Regions from separate parts of the Homo sapiens genome. Here regions 1 and 2 are each linked to region 3. The links are contacts of gene promoters, found by promoter capture Hi-C in blood cells and fetal thymus (Javierre and others, 2016). All regions are on one chromosome and are shown on one strand. Each heading gives the region's core, a stretch centred on a gene start or on the middle of the fragment in contact. The rest is flanking DNA. Distances are from core to core; before and after follow the strand shown.

What was found. The method cuts DNA at HindIII sites, captures the fragments that hold promoters and counts their contacts. A CHiCAGO score of 5 or more calls a contact.
Region 1: a contact is called between a fragment that was not itself captured here and the fragment with the promoter of KRT28 in region 3, in 5 of 17 cell types (endothelial precursors, erythroblasts, M0 macrophages and 2 more). The highest score is 8.3, in endothelial precursors.
Region 2: a fragment that was not itself captured here is called in contact with the fragment with the promoter of KRT28 in region 3 in 4 of 17 cell types (M0 macrophages, M2 macrophages, endothelial precursors and 1 more); the score reaches 8.3 in M0 macrophages.

The regions. Positions count from the first base shown.
Region 1 is chr17:41,312,197-41,315,909 of GRCh38, reverse strand. It overlaps KRTAP17-1 (keratin associated protein 17-1), which reads left to right and starts at 200. Exons shown (of 1, transcript NM_031964.2): 1 at 200-998. The coding sequence starts at 260. The coding sequence ends at 577. The HindIII fragment of the contact is 744 bases long and covers 1,306-2,049 here.
Region 2 is chr17:41,333,530-41,337,715 of GRCh38, reverse strand. No RefSeq gene overlaps it. Among named protein-coding and RNA genes, the nearest start is that of KRT33A, 15 kb to the left of the region's middle. The HindIII fragment of the contact is 1,879 bases long and covers 1,487-3,365 here.
Region 3 is chr17:40,797,958-40,801,819 of GRCh38, reverse strand. KRT28 (keratin 28) reads left to right here and starts at 1,861. Exons shown (of 8, transcript NM_181535.3): 1 at 1,861-2,376; 2 at 2,821-2,903; 3 at 3,429-3,585. The coding sequence starts at 1,927. It overlaps LOC105371776 (a long non-coding RNA gene), which reads right to left and starts at 486. Exons shown (of 4, transcript XR_934753.2): 1 at 256-486. RefSeq lists an enhancer at 2,683-3,862. The HindIII fragment of the contact is 3,919 bases long and covers 1-3,597 here.

The DNA.
Region 1 (3,713 bases), core at 428-2,927, 510 kb before region 3:
GATGTATTTTTACCCTCTGGATAAACAGCAGTTGGCAGGAGTGGGGCGTTTTTATGAGTTGAGGTACTCAGGACTGGAAAATAAACAGCCAGTTAATGAGCCGGTCTTATGGAAACTTGCATAAATAATAACAAAGAAAACATCCCGTCCCTCATGCCTGGGTGAGGGGATATAAAAGCTGCCATCCAGATGGCTGGCCACCGTCAGTCGTGGGGAACTCCGGCTGCGTTACCGACCTGCGAGCTGACGGGCCCGGACCATGGGGTGCTGCCCGGGGGACTGCTTCACCTGCTGCACCCAGGAGCAAAACTGCTGTGAAGAGTGCTGCTGTCAGCCGGGCTGCTGTGGCTGCTGCGGCTCCTGCTGTGGCTGTGGGGGCTCTGGCTGCGGGGGCTCTGGCTGCGGGGGCAGCTGCTGCGGATCGTCTTGCTGTGGATCTGGCTGCGGAGGCTGTGGAGGCTGCGGAGGCTGCGGGGGTGGCTGCTGTGGATCCAGTTGCTGTGGGTCCAGTTGCTGCGGCTCCGGGTGCTGTGGGCCTGTGTGCTGCCAGCCCACACCTATATGCGACACAAAATGAAGACCTTTCCCTCCACCACTGATGCAGTCCCACCGAAAGCCTCCATCTGCTCCAGGGGGACAGCCCCTCGTGTCCAGAACCTTCCATACCCCCAAGACAGTGTCTTGTCTTTCTGTGATTTGTAGAGGAGGGCTTGTTCTCCAACACCTTCTCTGGTATTTCAAGGCACCGAGAACAAGAGCCATACTCTGATGAAACATTAAAACTCGGTCACAACTAAGTGATCCCAAGCTCAAGGGTGAATCCCCAATACTTTACTTATTCACATGAAGTTCAATGTCTTGTACTATAAGACATCCTCTTCTTCAAGGTGTCTTTGGGACTGATCCTCCGCCCTGGCTTTCTGCAGCTTTGAGATGCAAAAAAGGTCCATCTTCTTTGTGAGCCTCTTAATAAATTTGAGCATGCTGGCATAACCTAATTAGTTCTCTTGCCTCTTCCTTGACCTCCCTGCTGAGGACTGGGTTAGAAAAATTCACTCTGGCATCTGCCTTAGGGTTTTTGAATTGTGGTTTTTGGATCACCTGCGTCGGAATCACCTGGGAGCTTGTTAAAACTGGAGACTCTGAGGCCCTCCCTAAGACATACAGAATCAGAATCCACCAAAGTGTGGCCTGGGAATCTGTGTTTTTAACAAGAACCTTAGATAATTCTTATGCACTGAAGTTTGAGAACCATAGATCTAGACGGAAGCTTCCGTGTGCTGCATGAGATTCACTTGAAAAGCTTTTAAAAATATAGATCATTGGGTTTTATCACTGGAGATTTTACCCGTTAGCTCTAGGGCCTAGAGTCCCTAGGGACCTGCATTTTTAAAAGCTCCTGGGTGAATGCTGATGCTGGCCACATTTAATGGTGATTGAGGGGCATGGCTTTCTTCTGCACTACAGCTCTCCTAGGATGGTTCTGCAGGAGGGCTTCAGGCTTGATCAGAACTTTCTGGCAAAGTCGGAAAGGAGGCTTTGGTAAAACAAGATTGGTTCTGAATGGAAAGGATTTCTAATGGCAAAGCTAGTGAATTCACAGTTTCTGAGGATGTTCTGCGCAGTACAGTTCCTTCTTCCAGCCTCATGCTTGGTCCAGTCTCACTTTTCTGTGCTAGGTTGTCTTACCTGGAACCAGCTACGTTTCTTCTGCCTGAGTTCTAAGGAGGAGGGAGTGAGTATACCTCTGCTAGGTAGGGCCCAGCCAAGGTGTGTGGGTCCACCTGGGAGGTTAAAACTCAAAAGACAGTTGATCAACCTTTTGTTGAAAGTGACCTTAAGCTGTGTGTGTAATAAAACTAATTTTGCTCTTGCCCTGGAAAAATAGTATTTATTTTTATGCCTACAAAGCGATGTTTCATTTGACAAAGAAAAATTTTTTTCTGATTATAAGCATAGCAATGAACTCTAAAAAATGAAAAAATACAGAAACATATAAAGAATATAGCATTCGAAGGCTCACCACTCAGAGTCTATTACTGATAAGCTTTCCAGACTGTTTTCTAAGCATAGTTATGAATAAAACTGGGATTATGTTGCTTTTACCTTTTTCTTTAAAAAATTTTTTTGTTTCATTTTTTATGGTCAACTTTATTGAAATATAATTTACATATAATAAAAAGTTCCCATTTTTAGTGAACAGTATGATGTGATCTGACATTCGTGTATACTTATGTAACCACCACTGCACTCAAGATCTTTATGGAACTTTCCATCACCCCCAAAATTCCCAGTTTGTCTTTGCAGTCAGTTCTTCCCCCACCCCCAGACCCTGGCAACCATCAACCTGTTCTTTATGTTACTACAGATTTCACCATGTCTAGAATTTCATATAAAAGAAATCATGCAGTATGCACTATTTTTCATTTTGCCTATCATGTTTTGTATCTGTTCATTGTTGCAGGTATCAATAATTCATTTTTTTTTCTACTGAATGGCATCCCATTATACAGATAAACTACATTAAAAATATATTCACCTACTTATGGGCATTTGGATTCTTTTGTGTTTCTGGCTATTATGAATGAAGCTGCTATGAGCATTCTCGTACAATTTTTTTTTTTTGGTGAACATATGCTTTGTTTTGGATAAATACTTAGCAATTGGATGGCTGTTTAAATGGTAAGTGAATGCTTAACCTTATGTGAAACTGCCGAGTTGTTTTGCAAAGTGGCCACAGCATTTTGTATTCCAACCAGCAATGTCTGAGAGTTCCAGTGTCTATGTCCTTGGTAACACTTAATATTATCAGTCTTTTTATTTCTAGCCATTCCAGCAGGTGTATAGTGGTAGCTCATTGTGTTTTCATTTTTTTCTTTCATTTATGAACCCAGCAGTATTATTAATGTCTTCTTTTGGAGAGAACCTGAGATTTGACTCTGCCTTGGTTCAGTTTCGGACTCTACTATTTGAGCCATTTTCACTCTGGCTGGAACTGGCTTCCTAGGAACTGGCTCTTTAACCCCTAAGACAAAGCCACCGCCAAAGCAGGAGCTGCCAATGGGACACACTTGTCCAGAGACCAGTGAATCTGCACTGAGTAGTTGTGATTCAGAGCAGCTGATTATTCTATTGCGCACGGTCATGCCTCCTGGATGCATGTGTGGCGGTAGTGATTTTTGAATTACTGATACAGGCTTGCCCTTCTTAGCTATCCACAGAGGTTCTCATTTATTCACTCAATAAATGCTAATCGTGTGCCTCCAATGTATCAGCTGCTGCTCTGGATGCTGGGTATGCATCTGTGAATAGACAAGGTCCTTGCCCTCATGGTGCTTATATGAGGTCAAGGGGTGATAAGAGCCATAAAGAAGAATAAAGTAGAAATGGGCTACATAGTTGAATGACCTGCCTTTTCATTTAGCAGGGAAGGATTCTTCGAAGAGATGACATTCCAGCACAATGGATGAGTTTCTTGGCTGAGAGAGTTTATGAGAAATTTGTTTGTGGGGCGGACTTCCATTCACTGCTGGTTTAGCTGAGGAAGAGAAGTGAATGGAAAAGAGAAGGGTCTCAGCATCTCCTCTGTGTTTGCCTCTGCAGGCCTGTCCAAAAGTCTTCTTTGCCCACTGCTTGAGAGCCACATTTAAAAGAATGGCACTCCCTGTTCCTAATCCTCCATTTTCAACTACCATGACCCGTCTCTCAGGTCT
Region 2 (4,186 bases), core at 1,177-3,676, 540 kb before region 3:
AGCGAGTCAAAGGTCACTTTATAAAAAATCTAGCTGCTTTTTTACAATAATTTAAAGCTCTCCTGGAAACACTATACAAGGTTTAAACAATGAGTATTTAAACAATGAGCCCCTCTATGATGGACTGGGAAGCACCATGTGTCAAGAGGAGCATGGCAATGCTATTAACCATAGAAGCATCAATAAAATATGTGTATGTTGCCAATGAGGACCACATTTGGGTTGGTTCGTTTCTCTAAGATATCTGTCTAGCCGATTCATTGTCTCAGGACATTTTGTTGCCCAGGATGCAGTTTTCTCTTTCAAATACACATCCCTGATTTTTACTGAGAATATCTTCCAATGATATTTTCTTTGTCAGAAATTTTGCAAATAAAAGTAGAAAGAAAAAAGGGATTTGTGGAGAGAGAGTTCCAAGATGGCAGGTGATGGAGTTTATGGTGGCATATGTGCCCCAAACAAAACGCAGGCCTGGGAAGGGCCTGGACAGCTTTTCCTGGAAATAGGAGACTGGGAATGGGAGGGAGTGTGGATTCAACATGGACCATCTTTTCCAGTCCTTACACCACTCTGACGTTAGTAACTCTAAAGCATTGCATACGTTTGCCTTCAGGGCTAGCTGAGGGGGCTTCTTTCCTCTCTCCTTCAAGAAAGGAGAGAGGGAAGAGGGTCTCTTGCTTCTCTACTCCTAGCTTCTTGCTGATGGGAAACTTCAGAGTTTCCCATGAGAATCTAATGCCTTATGATCTGTCACTGTCTCCCATCACCCCCAGATGGGATCATGTAGTTGCAGGAAAACAAACTCAAGGCTCCCACTGATCCTACATTATGGTTAGTTGTGTAATTTTTTCATTGTATATTACAATATATTAATAGTAGAAATAAAGTGCACAATAAATGTAATGGGCTTGAATCAGCCCCAAATCATAACTTTCCCTCTCCTCGGCCCATGGGAAAGTTGTTTTCCATGAAACTGGTCTCTGGTACCAAAAAGGCTGGGGACCACTGGTGTAAATGCTTCTAAGAATAGATAAGCAACTTAAGGTTTACAGGGTACTAAAAATATGGGTTTAAATGCTAATAAAACTGGATGCACATGAAAACACTCTCTTGCTGTGGTCCAGTGAATCTTGACCATTCTATCACAGAGACTTGCAGCTTTGAGTTGGAGCTGCCCCCTGGACCTCCTGTCCACAGCACACCCCTGCAACACACACACACATGCACATACATACATGTGCACATACCTGCACACATACACACACATGCTGTGCTTCATGCCCTCACTAAGGTGGCATGGGAGGGAATGAGTGTTTTTAAGAGAAATGAAGACAACTCAGGCTTCTTGTTCTCCTGGTGTTTGCACAAGTGCCTTCTCTGCAGACCATGCTTCAATCTCTTTCTTGGCTTTCCCTGTTAGTGAAAGAGACAAGCAGAGCCCCAGCATGTATCTGACTGCTTAGGGTCCAACCCAAGCTCACAAGCTTCCTGGGGAGCCTAGTGAGATGAAGGCACTGCAGAGCCTCCCAAAAAGAGGCATCAGCTTTTGGTGGAGACTTGAGCCCGGGAAGGTGGGACATCATGGTTCATCAAAGACACAACCAAAATCCAGTGAGGAATGGCAGCCATCAAAAGTTTTATTCTTCAAGAGAAGGAGTTCTCAGGGGCTGTGGGCAGCAGGCACAGAGCTCTTTAGTGCATGTGTGGGCAGGTGATGGTGACCTACAGTTTGCACTGGGAACTAAGATCAAGAGTGACCTGACCTCTGCTCATGCGCATCTCTCCCTGTCTCTCTCTCTACCTTTTATGTCTCTCTCCTTATCTCTCTCCCCACACTCCCTCTCAGCCTCCTCTGTCTCTGTCTCTCTCCCCATCTCTCTTTCTCTCTCTCACTCCTTTCTTCCCATGTCTCTTTCTCTCTCCTTCTCCACTTCTCTCTCCCTCCTCCTCTCCCTCTCTGCCACTGTTCAGGCTCCTGCCCACCCCTCCCTGCTGTGCAGAGAGGCACACGCAGGACTCCTAGGCTACCTTCCAGGGCACACGCACAAGGCTGCCGGGACTTGGTCCCAGTACAGTGCCCCCACCTCCCAGTGCCCTCAAGGTCAGGGGTGTGGGGTGTGCTTGTGCTCTCTTGGGTGGGCACCCCACTCTCCAGGAAGCAGAAGCTGCAGGTCACTGCTGGCTTGAGTGGCACGCCTATTGGACTGCTGGCTTCCATCCTGTGATCTGCCGAGGCCAAAACAGAGGACACCTGCCAAGGCCCCACCCTGCTCCAGGGTTGGGGTAGAGGTAGGGGTAGTGGTGGGGATGAGAGCAGCCACTGCAATCTGGTCCCTGCCCAGCATCCTGCCCTGCACCCTGCCATGCAAGGCCTCCTCTGCCACCCTTTCCCTGCCCCTCACCATCTTCACCCCTAGAAAGCCCCAGGCACAGGCTCCAGAAATCTCCCTGGATCCAGGAACTAAGAGCAACCACTGGGCTCCACAGCCCCTAGGCCAGGTGTCAGCCACACCCACTGCATGCTGACAAATCTTGGCTCTCACTTATGCCCCCCCGCAAGCCAGCCACACTCTGCCCCCACTCCCCCCACTTCCTGACTTTAGCCCTGACTGACAGTGCTGCCTCCTGGTAACCTTTCCCCCTCCCCACAAGGTCCAGGCAAGCCCAAATGCCAGCACCCGCCACCCACCCTTCCTGGGTGCCCCTCTATTGTCTGCTTGCCTAGATGTCTTAACCTCATTTTACCAAGCTAGAACAAATAACAGGGATGAGCCCCCAGCCTCTCCCAGGAAGATTTGGCAAAATGCTCTCCTTTTAGAAGCAGGAGCAGTGACAGGACCTAGGGATGACCCGAGGCTTGTCACCCAAGCAACAAGAAGGGCAAGGAGCCCAGTTTTATGACCTCACCTTGGGAGGACATGGCCAGGGCTCCACAAGGCCCTGTGGGGGGCTGGCAGGAGAACAGATCCACTCTCCTTTTGAGGAAGCAGGCCCCAACCCTAGGAAGCAGCAGATGGGGGCACACAGGCAGAGCTTCCGCAAGCTGTAGATCAGGGTCAGCAGATCTGCATTCAGCTTTAGCCCCAGGGGAGCTGCAAGACGTGAGACACTGATAGGTTTGGCTCTGTGTCCCCACCCAAATCTCATTTTGAGCTGTAATCCCCATGTGTCAAGGGAGGAACCTCATGGGAGGTGATTGTATTATAGGGGGCTGGGTTCCCCCATGCTGTTCCCCTGATAGTGAGTGAGTTCTCAGGAGAGCAGATGGTTTTAAAGCATGGCACTTCCTCGTTTTCTCACTCCCTCCTGCTGCCTTGTGAAGAAGATGCCCGCTTCCCCTTCGCCTTCCACCATGATTGCAAGCTTTCTGAACTGTGAGTCAATTCAACCTCTTTCCTTGATAAATTACCCAGTCTCAGGTATTTCTTCATAGCAGTGTGAAAACAAAACAAACTAAGACAGACCCCTTCTCTGAGGTGCCTTCTTCTGAGGCCACCAGCTGCCCCCATGCTCCTCCTCTGCCCCCTGGTCTTTCTTTTCCCCTCATGAGGCCCAAGTGATCTGCATGGCCAGCCCCAGCCCCATCCTACTGCAGGCCTGTCTAGCTGGTGGAGAGGCCGACCTCCTTTCCTGACCCTCAGGCTGGCTGATATGCTCTCTGGATCCTGGAGGAAACTGATTGTCTCTCCTCATACTGGTAGCAACTTCTTCCAAGACCACAAAGCTGGAAAACTGGTCTTTTTGTTGTCTCCGCTTGCTAGGGCTGTAGTTGGGACAGTACTAGAGGTGGGCCAATGGATGAATGGATGGATGAGTGGGACAGTAGTCCAGGGAGGATGTCCCTGTCTGTCCAGTTTGCATCGGCTCCTGTGCAGTCACATAGCTCCCTGCTAGCTGAGTTGAAATTAAAACCCATTCAGTCTGGCTTCTATATGGCTCATGGGGCCTGTGGACTGGTCTCTCCTTTTCCCTCCAGACCCCATCCCCATTAAGTCCATGAGCAAATCATGTAGGTGACATCCTCACAATGATCCTGAGGTGACTCTACTCACCATCTGCCTTCTCCCACCTAGTTTGAGCACCCTTCATTACTTACCTGGACCAGCCAGCTGGCCCCCCTCTCCTCCCTGCTGGTGTGGTGTGGCCTGTTAACACCTGAGCCGCAGCTGAACCCACTTCTGGCTAG
Region 3 (3,862 bases), core at 612-3,111:
TTCAAGGCAGAGTCTGTGTTCTCTAGATCCCCAATGCCACATCTAGCTTTGTGCCACTTAATTCTTATGCTAAGACTCCTCTTTTGAGGCAAATGCCATCCAATGGCCCCTCACCACATACACTCCCCTCTGCCTCATCATCCAAAAACCTTGACAATGGCTCACAGCCCACTTCCCTCCTGTCTCCTGCCATCATGAGAAACTTCACGCCTTTATAGATGGTACATTTAATGTCACAGACAGATAGTTCCTGACCTCCTACTCTCTTGCCTTTCAGGTCCAATCCACTTCTGACTTCTTGTTCCAGTGACTGTTGGTCCACTCCCATGACTACTCTGTGGACTTTGGTGACACCTGGAGTTGTGCCTACTTTAAAATTCTAAATTCTGGTTTCCACTATCCAATTTTAGCCTGTCATCCTTCACCTTTATCAATCTCCTCCTCACACTCCGCCTGCTCCATGACCTCATAAGGATACCCAATGACTCACCCTCTGCCCTTTTCTTCAGTCCATCTGTCCCTCTGGTTTTACTTTCTTCTTGCTATATGATCATACAGTCAATCGCCTCAATTGTTTTCTCAAGAACACCAGAAATTTCTTTGCCACTATTTCCTTCTTCTGGACCTGTCTTCAAATCCCAAAACCCACATCAATCTGATCATCATCCTTTCTATTCCTGCACCAGGATTACTTCCAAATATGCAGTTGAACATCATTATAAATGAGAGCTGGACCCTCCAATTTTCTTTTACTCATTGCTAGTCAAGTATTTTTCCAGTTCAGTATACATATTCTAAACAGTCATTCTTGCTATCAGTCACCTTCATCTGGAACATTCTGGCAACCCCTCAAATCCAGTTGGTCCAAACCTAAACTCAGTGTCTTCCTCCTCCTCTATTCCCCATCTCAGTGAATATTATGAGTTCCCAGAATCTAAAATTAATTACCTAAGAGTTATCCCCAATTCTGCCTTATTCCCTACTCTCCAAATTCAATCATATTACCATATGCTCTCAAAGCCATCTTCTCTGCATCCCCACTGCCTTCATCCTTCTCACCTGGACCATTATTCCAACCTTGTAATTGACCACCTTGTTTCATTTCAACCTGATCATTTTGCCCTCTGCTTTTTACTTAGGATTCATTACAAACTCTTTAGACCAGCACAGAAAGCTAACCATGATCCAGCCCCTGTCTGGACCTGACAATAGATTTCTTAAAGATTGTAATCACGCATTTTTCACTTCTGCATTTAGTTAACACTATGTCTTTCATTTTAGCACTTAGCATAGAGCACCAAACATCATAACCATGCTATTTTAAACAAAATAATAGGTCAATATTTGTGTCATTGTCCAAGATAATAAATAGATGTTATAATCATGGTAAGAACAGAGATGTCACTAGCCTCTGTTTTCTAAATAACACATTTTTTTCTGGTGGGATAAAATATCTGTTTCTGTAATTAGCAGTCCTTTATACCCCTCCATGGTAATTGAGACCCTACTGTACCTCACAGAACTCTATCATAATCTTACTTAACTTTATAAAAAATTTGATAATACCTGGCGCCAGATAATGACAGTATATGCCTAGGGTCTAGATGAAAGGAAAGGATTACTCACTCAAAATTAGAAGTTAAATTAATAAACTTAATATAGAACAAACCCTATTATATTTAAGATAAGAAATAGCCCAAAGCAACACCGAGGGATGTTAGACATTAATTATTTTTAAAATCACCCAATTATACATAATTTTATGCTAATCTAAGTGATGCCATTTTGCTTTTGGCATGTATAACTCAAATAGGAACGCCCCAATAATGATATATAAAAACCCAAAGAAATTATCAGTGCATGATATTCTGTTCTCTTGGGACATTACAGTTTTGCATAGACAAGGTGAACATTTCTCAAAACACCATGTCTCTCCAATTTTCTAATGGATCCAGGCATGTTTGCTTAAGGTCTGGAGCTGGATCTGTCAGACCCCTCAATGGAGGTGCAGGCTTTGCAGGCAGCAGTGCATGTGGTGGCTCTGTTGCTGGAAGTGAATTTTCCTGTGCCTTGGGAGGGGGCTTGGGCAGTGTTCCTGGTGGGAGCCATGCTGGTGGTGCCCTTGGAAATGCTGCTTGTATTGGCTTTGCTGGAAGCGAAGGGGGACTCCTCTCTGGAAATGAGAAGGTGACCATGCAAAATCTTAATGACCGCTTGGCATCCTACCTGGATAATGTGCGAGCTCTGGAGGAGGCAAATGCTGAATTAGAGAGAAAAATCAAGGGTTGGTATGAAAAATACGGACCTGGATCTTGCCGTGGACTTGATCATGACTATAGCAGATATCACCTAACAATTGAGGATCTTAAGAATAAGGTGAGAAATCACAGATTTGGAACTAACCCAAGTATTTAAAACTAAGAAATACCTAACAAAAGACATACAATAAGAAATGCTTCATGACTGTTATAACTTGTATTTATTTATTTAGATAAACAATTCTTCCTACTATTCAAAAATGGGCCCTTTGATTCATGAATTTTAATGTAGTTAAAATGTTATTAGTTCCATTGTTTATGTTGAAGTACATTCATAGGCATATGAATAAAAAAGTATTGTAGTTCTAAATTTAGGGGAATATATGAGAATAAATAAAACCATGTCTTTAATTTTTAAAAGTTAAACTTGAAACATTTTGATTATTACATAAGGAGGTGAAATTTTTATGCAAAAACTTGAGTAACCTTTTTCATTTCCTGAAATAATGAATCACATAAAAGCATACTTACTTGTTGTGTTCTCTGTTTTGGTTTATTCTAGATTATCTCCTCCACTACTACTAATGCTAATGTCATTCTGCAGATTGATAATGCCAGACTGGCTGCTGATGATTTCAGGCTAAAGTAAGTGACAGAAGAAAATCCTGCTCTAGAAAAAAGTTTCTATTTATTTAATTTGTTAAATAAAATTTCTATTTCATCCCAAGTAGAATGAACTATCACCTAAAAGATAAAAGGAAGCAAAGGATTTGTATTATAATGTTACAATCAACTTATACATAGTTATTATATTCCTGGGACAAAATATCAATATATTTCTCTGCCTGCCTAGAATACTGCCAAGCACAAAGTAGATGCTCAGTAAATCATTAGTCAACTAAGGAAAAACGTTAACTAAAATAAAATTCCAAAATGGTGTATTTTTATTTAACTAGGTTATGCTATTGGAATTTGTGTGATGAAATAACTTCCAATTATCCTGTACAGAATTGAGTGGGGGTAATGCAGGAGCGCTTTCTTCATATATTTTTATACTATTTACAGTCCTAATTCAATTTCTAATTTTCAGTTTAAAGCAATTGGGATTGAATATTTCTGTTTCTTGGGGTAGTCTTACTGGCACTGAAATTCACTTAAATGCCCCCCAAGGTATGAAAATGAGCTCACCCTTCACCAAAACGTAGAGGCCGACATCAACGGATTACGGCGAGTCCTGGACGAGCTGACGCTCTGCAGGACCGACCAGGAGCTGCAATATGAGTCTCTGAGTGAGGAGATGACATATCTCAAAAAGAACCACGAAGAGGTAGGAGAAGCTTTACCTGTAGTCCAATCACAACTCTGTACATTTTAAATACTGGGCAGGGGTTGGGGGTTAAAATCACAATAGTAATTCAGGTTCATTGTTATAATTTGCCAACGGATACAGACAGATTAGTCTAATAATACTACCTACTACGAGGGGATGTTAAAAGGCTTCAATGAATTAATACATATCACACGCTCAGAACAGTGCCTGGCCTATAATAATCACTCAATAAATGACAGCGGTCATCCCTAGGATGAATGCCTATGAGGGCCAG